Linked DNA regions of Homo sapiens: all the other regions are linked to region 2. The links are contacts of gene promoters, found by promoter capture Hi-C in blood cells and fetal thymus (Javierre and others, 2016). All regions are on one chromosome and are shown on one strand. The core of a region is centred on a gene start or on the middle of the fragment in contact, and the rest is flanking DNA. Distances in the headings are between cores, read along the strand shown.

Region 1 (2,936 bases), core at 41-2,540, 160 kb after region 2:
TCAGCTTTCAACCTGCGTTCCTCACTAAGCTTAATCATTTCTAGCTTTTTCTTTTCCCTTTTTTTTTTTTTTTTGAGACAAGGTCTTGTTCTGTCACCCAGGTTGAAGTGCAGTGGCACGATCATCGCTCACTGCAGCCTTGAATTCAGCCTCTTAAGTAGCTGGGACTACAGACTACAGGTGTGCACCACCATGCTTGACTAACTTTTAAATTTTTTTGTAGAGATGGAGTCTCACTATGTTGCGCAGACCTTGGTCTGGAACTCCTGGCCTCAAGCAATCCTCCCGCTTTAACTTCCCAAAGTGCTGGGGTCGCAGGAATGAGCCATGATACCTGGCTCATTTCTAGTTTTTAAAATAAACTGAGAGATGTGTAACTCTCCCATTCACTTGAACATTTAAAAGCCACTGTAGGGTTATTAACTGACCTAATTTCAATCTTGTTGTATCTCAGGGAATAGGGGAGCCTGAGGAGAGGAAGAGAGATGAGGGAATAGATGGTCAGTGGAGCAGTCAGAACGCACACGACATTGATCAGTTAAGTCTGTTGTCCTACATGGGTACAGTTTGTGGTGCCCTGAAATGATTACAGTAATAACAAAGATCACTGATCAAAGCCCACCATAGCAGTTAATAACAATATAAAGTTTTGAAATATTATGAGAATTATCAAAATTGCTGTGGCAATTTGTTAGCTCCTAACAAAAGAGTCAGCCTGTCCTTTGAAGCTAGGCATTGACCTTCTCCTCTCTAGCTATGAAAGTTCTAGATGGCATCTTCTTCCAGTGTCCAGAGACATAAAGTGAGCATATGCTGTAGGAAAAATGGTGCTAATAGACTTGATCAATGCAGGGTTGCCATAAACCTTCAATTTATAAAAACCACAATATCTGTGAAGTGTAATAATGTCAAGAACAGTAAGACGAGGTATACCTGTACTTTATTAAAGATTGTCTTCAAATGTTTTAGCAAACATAAAATATGTGGGTGTGTACTTGGAGAGGCAGAAATAATGGGTCTGGATTGAATAAAGACTGCAGGAGGTGAAAGAGAGACTAATTTATACTTAGTTGGTTTTTGTTTCAAGATTCATGTGAAAGGAAATGCCAGGAAAGTTCTGGCTTCAACTCATGGTGATGAGGAAAAATTTATTCGAGGACATGCTTTGTCTTGTTTTGTTTTCTTTTTAAATCATGGAATATCTCAAACATCAGTGTATTTTTCATCTAGAAGTTCGATTTGGGTCTTTTTCTTACATCTTCCTTATCTCTAGTTAACTTATAAACATCTGAAATCTAGTTATAATGACTTACAATGTCTGTATCTGCTAATTCTAGTATCTTTGTCTGTTCTGGGTTGGTTTCAAAGGGATGATTCTCCCCCTCATAATGGACTGTATTTTCCTATTTGCATGCCCGTAATCTTTGACTGGATGTCAGACATTGTGAATTTTACCTGTTGGGTATGGATATTTTTGTGTTTTTAGAAATATACATGAGCTTTGTTTCAGGACATAGCTAAGTTACTTGGAAGCAGTTTGATCCTTTTGGGTCTTGCTTTTAAGATTTATTAGGTGGTACCAGAGCAGCATTTATTCTAGGGCCAATTATTCCCCCCTACTGAGGCAAAACCCTTCTGAATACTGTACCCAATTACCCTGTGAATGACGAAGTTCTTTAGTCTGCCTTGTTAGATCAGAAACTACTCCTGGCTCTTTGTGAGGCTGGGCACTGTTCCCTCTGGTCCTCTTAGCTGGTTCTTGCCTCAGCCTTGGGAAGTTTTGAGCCCTTTCCTCCCAACTGCTGACAAGAACACATCTCAGAATGTACTTTAGGGAAATTATCTGGAAGATAAAGAATTGGTCTGAAGTTAATTCCCTCCCGAACCTTTGGATTTCCATAATTAACTCAGGGACAAATAAGATTATGTGCCACAACATCATGCTTATAAAATACAATGTGAATTTCAATGTCATGGCAATGATACGATAGTTGACAATAAAGGAAAATAGCTAGAAAAAATCAAATTAACCTTTTCCCAAAAAGTAAATAGTAAGTTGATGACTAAAACTCTAAGTCAAAATTTCAAGCCTGACTTTTCTGGGGTCTGGGAGGAAAGATTTTATCTCTCATTTCCACTTCACTCTTAATTCATAAGATAGAAACACCAAGAATTAAAAAAAAAAAATCCACCAAAAAATTCCTAGCATCTTGATAGTCTTCTCTTCACATTTATAAATTTTAAAGAAATTAAAAATCCTTACATACATTAAAGATAGAGGACATACGCCTAGAAATGTACCTCAGCATGCATATGCTAGCTAGGAAAAGAAAGCAACTGATGAAATCTACATCCAGGTTCACGTATTTCTGTCACTTGTAGAAGGCACTTAATAGATCAGAATTTGCTAAATAAGCACCCAGATAGAGATAAAATACTTCAATCTCCCAGGCAAAAACTCTTGCATTCATTAGTACTGGTATCCAAATTAAGAGTAACAAATTAAAATTCCTTTAATTTTCTATACTTTGCTATAAATATTAGCAGGAAAATAAGCTTGCTTATTTGAGTTATAGACATTTATTGCAGAGATGCCTTCTTTATGTCTTTTCCTTACATTCTAAACTTTTTTTTTTTTTTTTTTTTTTGAGACAGAGTCTCCTTCTGTTGCCCAGGTTGGAGTGAAGTGGCGGGATCTTGGCTCACAGCAAGCTCCGCCTCCCAGGTTCACGCCATTCTCCTGCCTCAGCCTCCTGAGTAGCTGGGACTACAGGTGCCCGCCACCAAGCCCAGCTAATTTTTTGTATTTTTAGTAGAGACGGGGTTTCACTGTGTTACCCAGGATGGTCTCGATCTGCTGACCTCGTGATCCGCCCGCCTCAGCCTCCCAAAGTGCTGGGATTACAGGCGTGAGCCACTGCGCCTGGCCACATTCT
Region 2 (2,960 bases), core at 154-2,653:
GATAATTTTTGTATTTTTAGTAGAGTCGGGGGTCTATGTTGCCCAGGCTAGTCTCAAACTCCTGGGCTCAAGCGATATGCCCACCTCGCCCTCCCAAAGTGCTGGGATTACAGGCATGAGCCACCGCGCCTTGCTAGAAGCCATTTAATCCAACTCTCCATCAAAGTCATGAATCCTGTTTACAACAACCTGATGAGATGTCAACTACTTTTCACGTGAACACACCCAGGAATTAGGAAGGCATTCCCTAACCGGCAGCTCTTATCTCTCCCAATCACGATTTGAGCTTCACCAAATAACTCAAACCCCTGTTTCCTCACATATTAAAGGGGAGTAAATATCTGCTTTACAGAACATTGTTGGGAGAATAAAAGGAGATAGAGGAATATAAATGGCCTAATCCACTTACAGAGGAGGGTGTGCAATGTTAGTCCCCTTTTTGCCTCCTTTTATGGGACAGCACATTCCATTTTTGGATCGTCATCACCTAGAGAAAGGTCTTCCTTAATACTGAATTGTCTTTGTATCCTTTTAGCACCTTTCTTAAGTTTAACCCTAAGTGGTCTCATAGAATGTCATTTTTCCGTCCACACGACGTCTTCACTGATATCTGTGACTTTAGTTGAAGGGGCTGAAGATATTGGGAAGAATAATTCAATTTTTTCCTTCCTCCGTCCCTCCCTCCCTCCCTTCCTTCCTTCCTTTTTTTTTTTTTTTCTTTGAGCTGGGGAGCTGGGTGAGGCTTCTGTGGATTCCCAAGAGGTATTTGTGGCGTGAATGGAGCAAAGGTGATGTTTCACTTCATCACGTCCAGCACTGTCCCAAGGTTAAATGGGCGCGTGAGGACAGTTTTCTCCGGTCCTGGCGGGTTTGCCCACCTGCCGGCCAGCGTTCTGCGGGAGTCAAGCCTGGAAAGCGTGTGTGCGGCGCACAGGCGTCAGACACTGGAACGCATTCGAATGGTGCTATTCTTTGCCACATAGCGAGCACTTTATAAGGTCACTTATCGTCCCGAATGAATGGTTAAATCGTGGAAGCCGCAAAGAAAGCCACGCAGCTTTGACTCAATACCTAGCCCAGTACTCAGGAACCCCTCTCAGGGGTGCGCGAGCGGGGCCGGAATCAAGAAGCCTCTTTTGGGGTGGGCGGGGACCGATCTAGAGCTCCCACTGCGGGGCACCGCCTCTTTTCCTCGCCGGCCGCCCGCTAGGAGGCGCTGGGGAGCTTGCAGCCCACCTGCGAGGCGGTCCCGCTCTCCCCACCCCTCAGCCCGCGCCCGGCGGAGAGACTACAACTCCCGGAGTGCTCTGGGAACGGAGCCACGGGAGCTACAGGCGGAGGGACCCGAGGGCGGGCTTTCCGGGTGTGTGTTTCCGGCGTCGGCGGCCGCGGCCGGGGACGGTGTGAGAGCGGTAAGATGGCGGCGGCGGCGGTGGTGGAGTTCCAGAGAGCCCAGTCTCTACTCAGCACCGACCGGGAGGCCTCCATCGACATCCTCCACTCCATCGGTAAAGGTCGCCGCGCCGCCTCCCCGGCCCCGCCGGCCCAGCTCGGCTTATGTCGGTCGGCGGCAGCGGAGAGGGGCCCGGCTAGCCGGCTCTGATGCTGCTGACTCACTGTGTGAGGGGGGCCGGGCCGGGGGCGCAGGCCGCTCGGAGCTCCCCAGAGCCTCCCAGGTCTCACTCTTGTGGGAGGGCTTGAGGCAATCCCCGGGTCCCCTCGCCGGCTGCTGACTCACGGGGGGCTCAGCGTAGGGTGGGAGAGTGGGCCGAGCCGGGCCCCCGGGGATCCCTCCCTAGCCATGTCCCCGGCTCTGGCCCGCACGAGCTGGTCTGGGACCCGGAGCAGTGCCGGCCGGCGTGCTTGTCACGGACTGGTCCTAGAGTCTCTACTTGAAAGGCCTTGGCGAAACCAGCTCTGGACAGGCATTTCCCGCCGTTGTAATCAGCACAGCCTGCTCCGGGTGGGAGCGCGAGCGCTTGCTCTTCTCTGGGAGTTTCCTTCCACGGGACGCTGGGAGCTGCTACTCCTCAGCCCCACGGCAGAAAGCTCCACTAAGAGGAGGGTCTCTTTCAGAATGTGGGAAATTCAGGGGTGACACACACCTCAGATTGGCATTTGGTTTGTGGAGGTGGCCGAGACGCTCATCTGCTCTGTGTAGGGTGTAAGAGTGAGGTGTTGGAGCGGGACCGCCTGGCTAGAGGAGGTGACTAATCTTTCCAGACTGCCTGTAGGGGTTGGAAGTGAGTTAAGGGAGTTAGTTGTCAGCCGCGGAGTTCAGGGAATTCTTTGGAACGGGTCGGCTGCATGTTGCCGGAAAAATTAAAATTTCTTAACGCTGTAATAACGATGGTCTTACACCTACACACAACAGGAAAACTGAAATGGGAATCCCAGCCAGTCGCTTCCGGCAGCTTTCTGTTGGGATTCAAGTGTGAACAGAAATTTATTACGACAGAAGAAGACGTTAATGTTCACTCATAAAGGATTCAATTAGGGCTTGGACTAGCTCTTCACTGCACATGTAATGGCATCTTTGTAGTGTAGTTTGGGAAGATCTGAATTGGCTCAACAAGTAGTATGAGAATGCACCTGTATGTGGGACTTGCAAGATGTTGGCATTTGACTTAGTGTGTTGAATTTTGGTATTCCAGACCTGCACGGAGAAAGGACAATGACAAGATCTTGATACTTTATCATTGGGGATACTAGAGAAGGAGAGGAAGTGGGCGTCAAGGTGTATCTTTGAATGATATTGGTAAAAGGTGTTTCATTTTAAAAGTTCTGATCTTAGGTCAGTTACTTCTACGGAACCAGAGTCATCTCAATCACCGTTACATGGATATTTTATTCTGAGTACACACTATTATTTAGAACTAATGTGAGGAGCATGAATTTTAATAGTCTGTGTCTAGTGTCTAATATTTTTTCTTTCATAAAGTAGAAATTACGTCAAATAT
Region 3 (2,775 bases), core at 153-2,652, 180 kb after region 2:
GAAGACAGTAAAAGCTATGGATGGATTAAAAAGGTTCTCCTAGCTTAGAAGACTGATGGTTCCCATGTGTTCCTTATCAAAGCCAACCCTTAATTACAGCCTTAAAAGCTTTATTCTTACTGGTTACCTTGCAGGTACTTTCTCCTTTCTCTCCTCATGCCCCTCCCCAAGCTCTTGTCCACGGCTTCCAAATCCATGTCTCTGCTAAGGACTGAGAATGTCTGTGACCTCCCATATGTTGAAACCCTAATCCCCAGTGTGATGGTATTTGGAGGTGGGGCCTATGGGAGGTAATTAGGTCATGAGGGTGGAGCCCTCATGCTGGGATTAGTGTCTCTATAAGAAAAGACAGGCCAGAACCTGCTTCCTCCTCTCTTCCCCATGTGAGGATACAATGAGAAGGCAGCCAGTCCTCTGTGAACTGAAAGGAAAGCCCTCACCAGAGCTCAAACATGCTGGCACCCTGATCTTGGACTTCCAGCCTCCAGACTGGGAAATAGATTCCTGTTGTTTAAGCCACTCGGTCTGTGGTTTCTTGTTACAGCACCCCATGCTAAGACAGTCTCCATCCTAGGTTGCTCTTTGACTGTGTATTGGGCCTTGCCTCAAATGAAGCCCATTTGAGACTGACCTTTCTCACACTCTGCTACCACATCCCTGCTTCTTTTCCTGTATTTCCCATCTTGGTGAGTCACCAGCACCAAAGCCTGTTGTTCTCGCACATAAACAGGTCTTGAACCCATCTCCCCCTCTTTATGGTCCTTGCTTGAGTACAGGTCCTTGTAATTTCTTAAGCAGCATCTTAACTGCTTTTCCTGTCACCAGTCTTGACCTCTCCAGCTCAACCATCAACACTCATTTATTGAACACCTACTGTATGGCAGGCAGTGTTCTGGGAACAAGAGAGTCCCCGACCCTTCTCCCATGGAGTCTATGTTCTAATGGGGGTGTGGGGGAGCCAGACTGAAAAGAACTCTAATAATGTGACAGGTGGTGATGTGGCCTGTGAAGAAGAATAAAGTGTGTAAAGGCATACAGAGGGATAAGATGGAGCTGAGGGTATCATTCTGAACAAGCCTTTTAAAGTTATATTTGGGCAGAGGCCTGAATGAAGTAAGGAAGCCATTCAGTTATCTGGGAGAACACTCCAGGGGAATGAAAACCGAGATCAAAGATTAGACAGTGAGGGCACTGAAAGCTGACTTCATCCGACTCTGATTTCTACAGGCATGGGATTGCCAGTTTGCAAGGGGGCAAAGAGCAGTTTCTAATTCTAGAGCACCTGACTATGTGATAAGAACGATGCTGAGGACTTTCCACGCATTATTTCATATACCTCATTTTGGGCCTCAACATTCAACTGAGATGGGTGCTACTGTTAAAATGGGGCATGAATTCAACAACCACCCATCTGCTTCCAAATATCCTAACACTTGTGTTGCCAGACCCCACTGGGGTGTGATTTTTCTTTTGTCCTTTACCATTTATGGTGTAATGATCTTTAAATGCAATATAAGATATTTTTACAACTCAACAAGATTTGTGAAAGGCTATCAGAGGGGATGGTAAGGGCGGACATCAGAGGTGGCTCCCAAGAAGCAGAATGGCTGCTCAACAGGAGCCAAAGTAGTAGTTCAGCTAACTCAGGAGAGAGGACCCTGAGCCTGTCAACTTTACTTGTTCCCACTAGATATACCTCTAACCATGGCACACTGTAAAGAGGTCTATGCTTAGATATGGTTCCAATAAAATGAAATCCTTCTAATGTTTATTATATTAAAAAAATCAGATTCCCCCTGTAGTGCAGAACTTCATCGTAACAATTCTGTGTAAAGAAAGTTTGTTCTGGACCTCAGCCAATAACAAAGAAACAAACTCATTTATTTAATGGCTACAGTCCAGGACCAGTATAGGCCACCTCCCAGTGGTATGTGTGTGGTAGTGGTGGGGATGGGGGGTCGTTGCTAAGTGAGACAATATATGCAGAGGTCCACTATAAGGAATGAAAATCATCAAATATAAGGTGATTTCTTTATCTTATACTACTCTTGTTTAAGGAAAATCTTTTGATGAGACTGTCCTCAAACATTAAACCATGGTCAATGACTTAAAGAAAATTTAATTTTTGATACAGATACGCGATCATGAGGCTTTCTAGAAAACACACACTCTCTCCAACTCTGTCTCAGTCCATTTAGGTGGCTATGACAAAATACCATAAACTGGTGGCTTATAAACAACAGAGATTTACTCCTCACGGTTCTGGAAGCTAGAAGTCCGAGATGAGGGTGCTGGTGGCCCTCGTCCAGGTTGCAGACTGCCAACTTCTCGTAGTGTCCTCACATGGCAAAAGGGCGAGGGTCTCTCTGGGGCCTCTTGTATAAGTCGATAATCCCATTATGAGGGTAGAAACCTCCCAAAGGTCCCATCTCCGAGTTCCATCACTTTGGGGGTTAGGATTTTGACATATGAATTTTGGGGGAACACCTTCAGACCTTAGCACTCTGTGTCTCTCTGTCTCTCTCTCACACACATATACGTAAGTGATAAAAAACTCTAATGGCAGAACTGAATTTGGGAGCAAGTCCAACTTTTAACAGATGTTTCCAAGGAGCCAAAACAACAAAAGTGAAAAAATTTGGGGAACAGAATAGATAAGTGGTTCTCATCTCTGGCTGCATAGTGCAGTCACCTAGGAAGCTTTATTTTATTTTTTCTTTAAGTTTTTTTTTTTTTTTTGTAGAGACAGGGTCTTGCTATGTTGGCCAGGCTGGT

Evidence for each region. The method cuts DNA at HindIII sites, captures the fragments that hold promoters and counts their contacts. A CHiCAGO score of 5 or more calls a contact.
Region 1: a contact is called between a fragment that was not itself captured here and the fragment with the promoter of PSMD11 in region 2, in 2 of 17 cell types (naive B cells and non-activated CD4 T cells). The highest score is 6.9, in naive B cells.
Region 3: a fragment that was not itself captured here is called in contact with the fragment with the promoter of PSMD11 in region 2 in 2 of 17 cell types (naive B cells and naive CD8 T cells); the score reaches 5.7 in naive B cells.

Annotation. Positions count from the first base shown.
Region 1 is chr17:32,600,896-32,603,831 of GRCh38, forward strand. All of the region lies in intron 21 of MYO1D (myosin ID), which reads right to left. Among named protein-coding and RNA genes, the nearest start is that of CDK5R1, 120 kb to the left of the region's middle. The HindIII fragment of the contact is 2,527 bases long and covers 28-2,554 here.
Region 2 is chr17:32,443,107-32,446,066 of GRCh38, forward strand. It overlaps PSMD11 (proteasome 26S subunit, non-ATPase 11), which reads left to right and starts at 1,404. Exons shown (of 14, transcript NM_002815.4): 1 at 1,404-1,508. The coding sequence starts at 1,418. RefSeq lists a silencer at 1,124-1,293 and enhancers at 1,185-1,800, 1,414-1,493. The HindIII fragment of the contact is 4,191 bases long and covers 1-2,960 here.
Region 3 is chr17:32,621,494-32,624,268 of GRCh38, forward strand. The region is part of intron 20 of MYO1D (myosin ID); the gene reads right to left. Among named protein-coding and RNA genes, the nearest start is that of CDK5R1, 140 kb to the left of the region's middle. The HindIII fragment of the contact is 2,592 bases long and covers 107-2,698 here.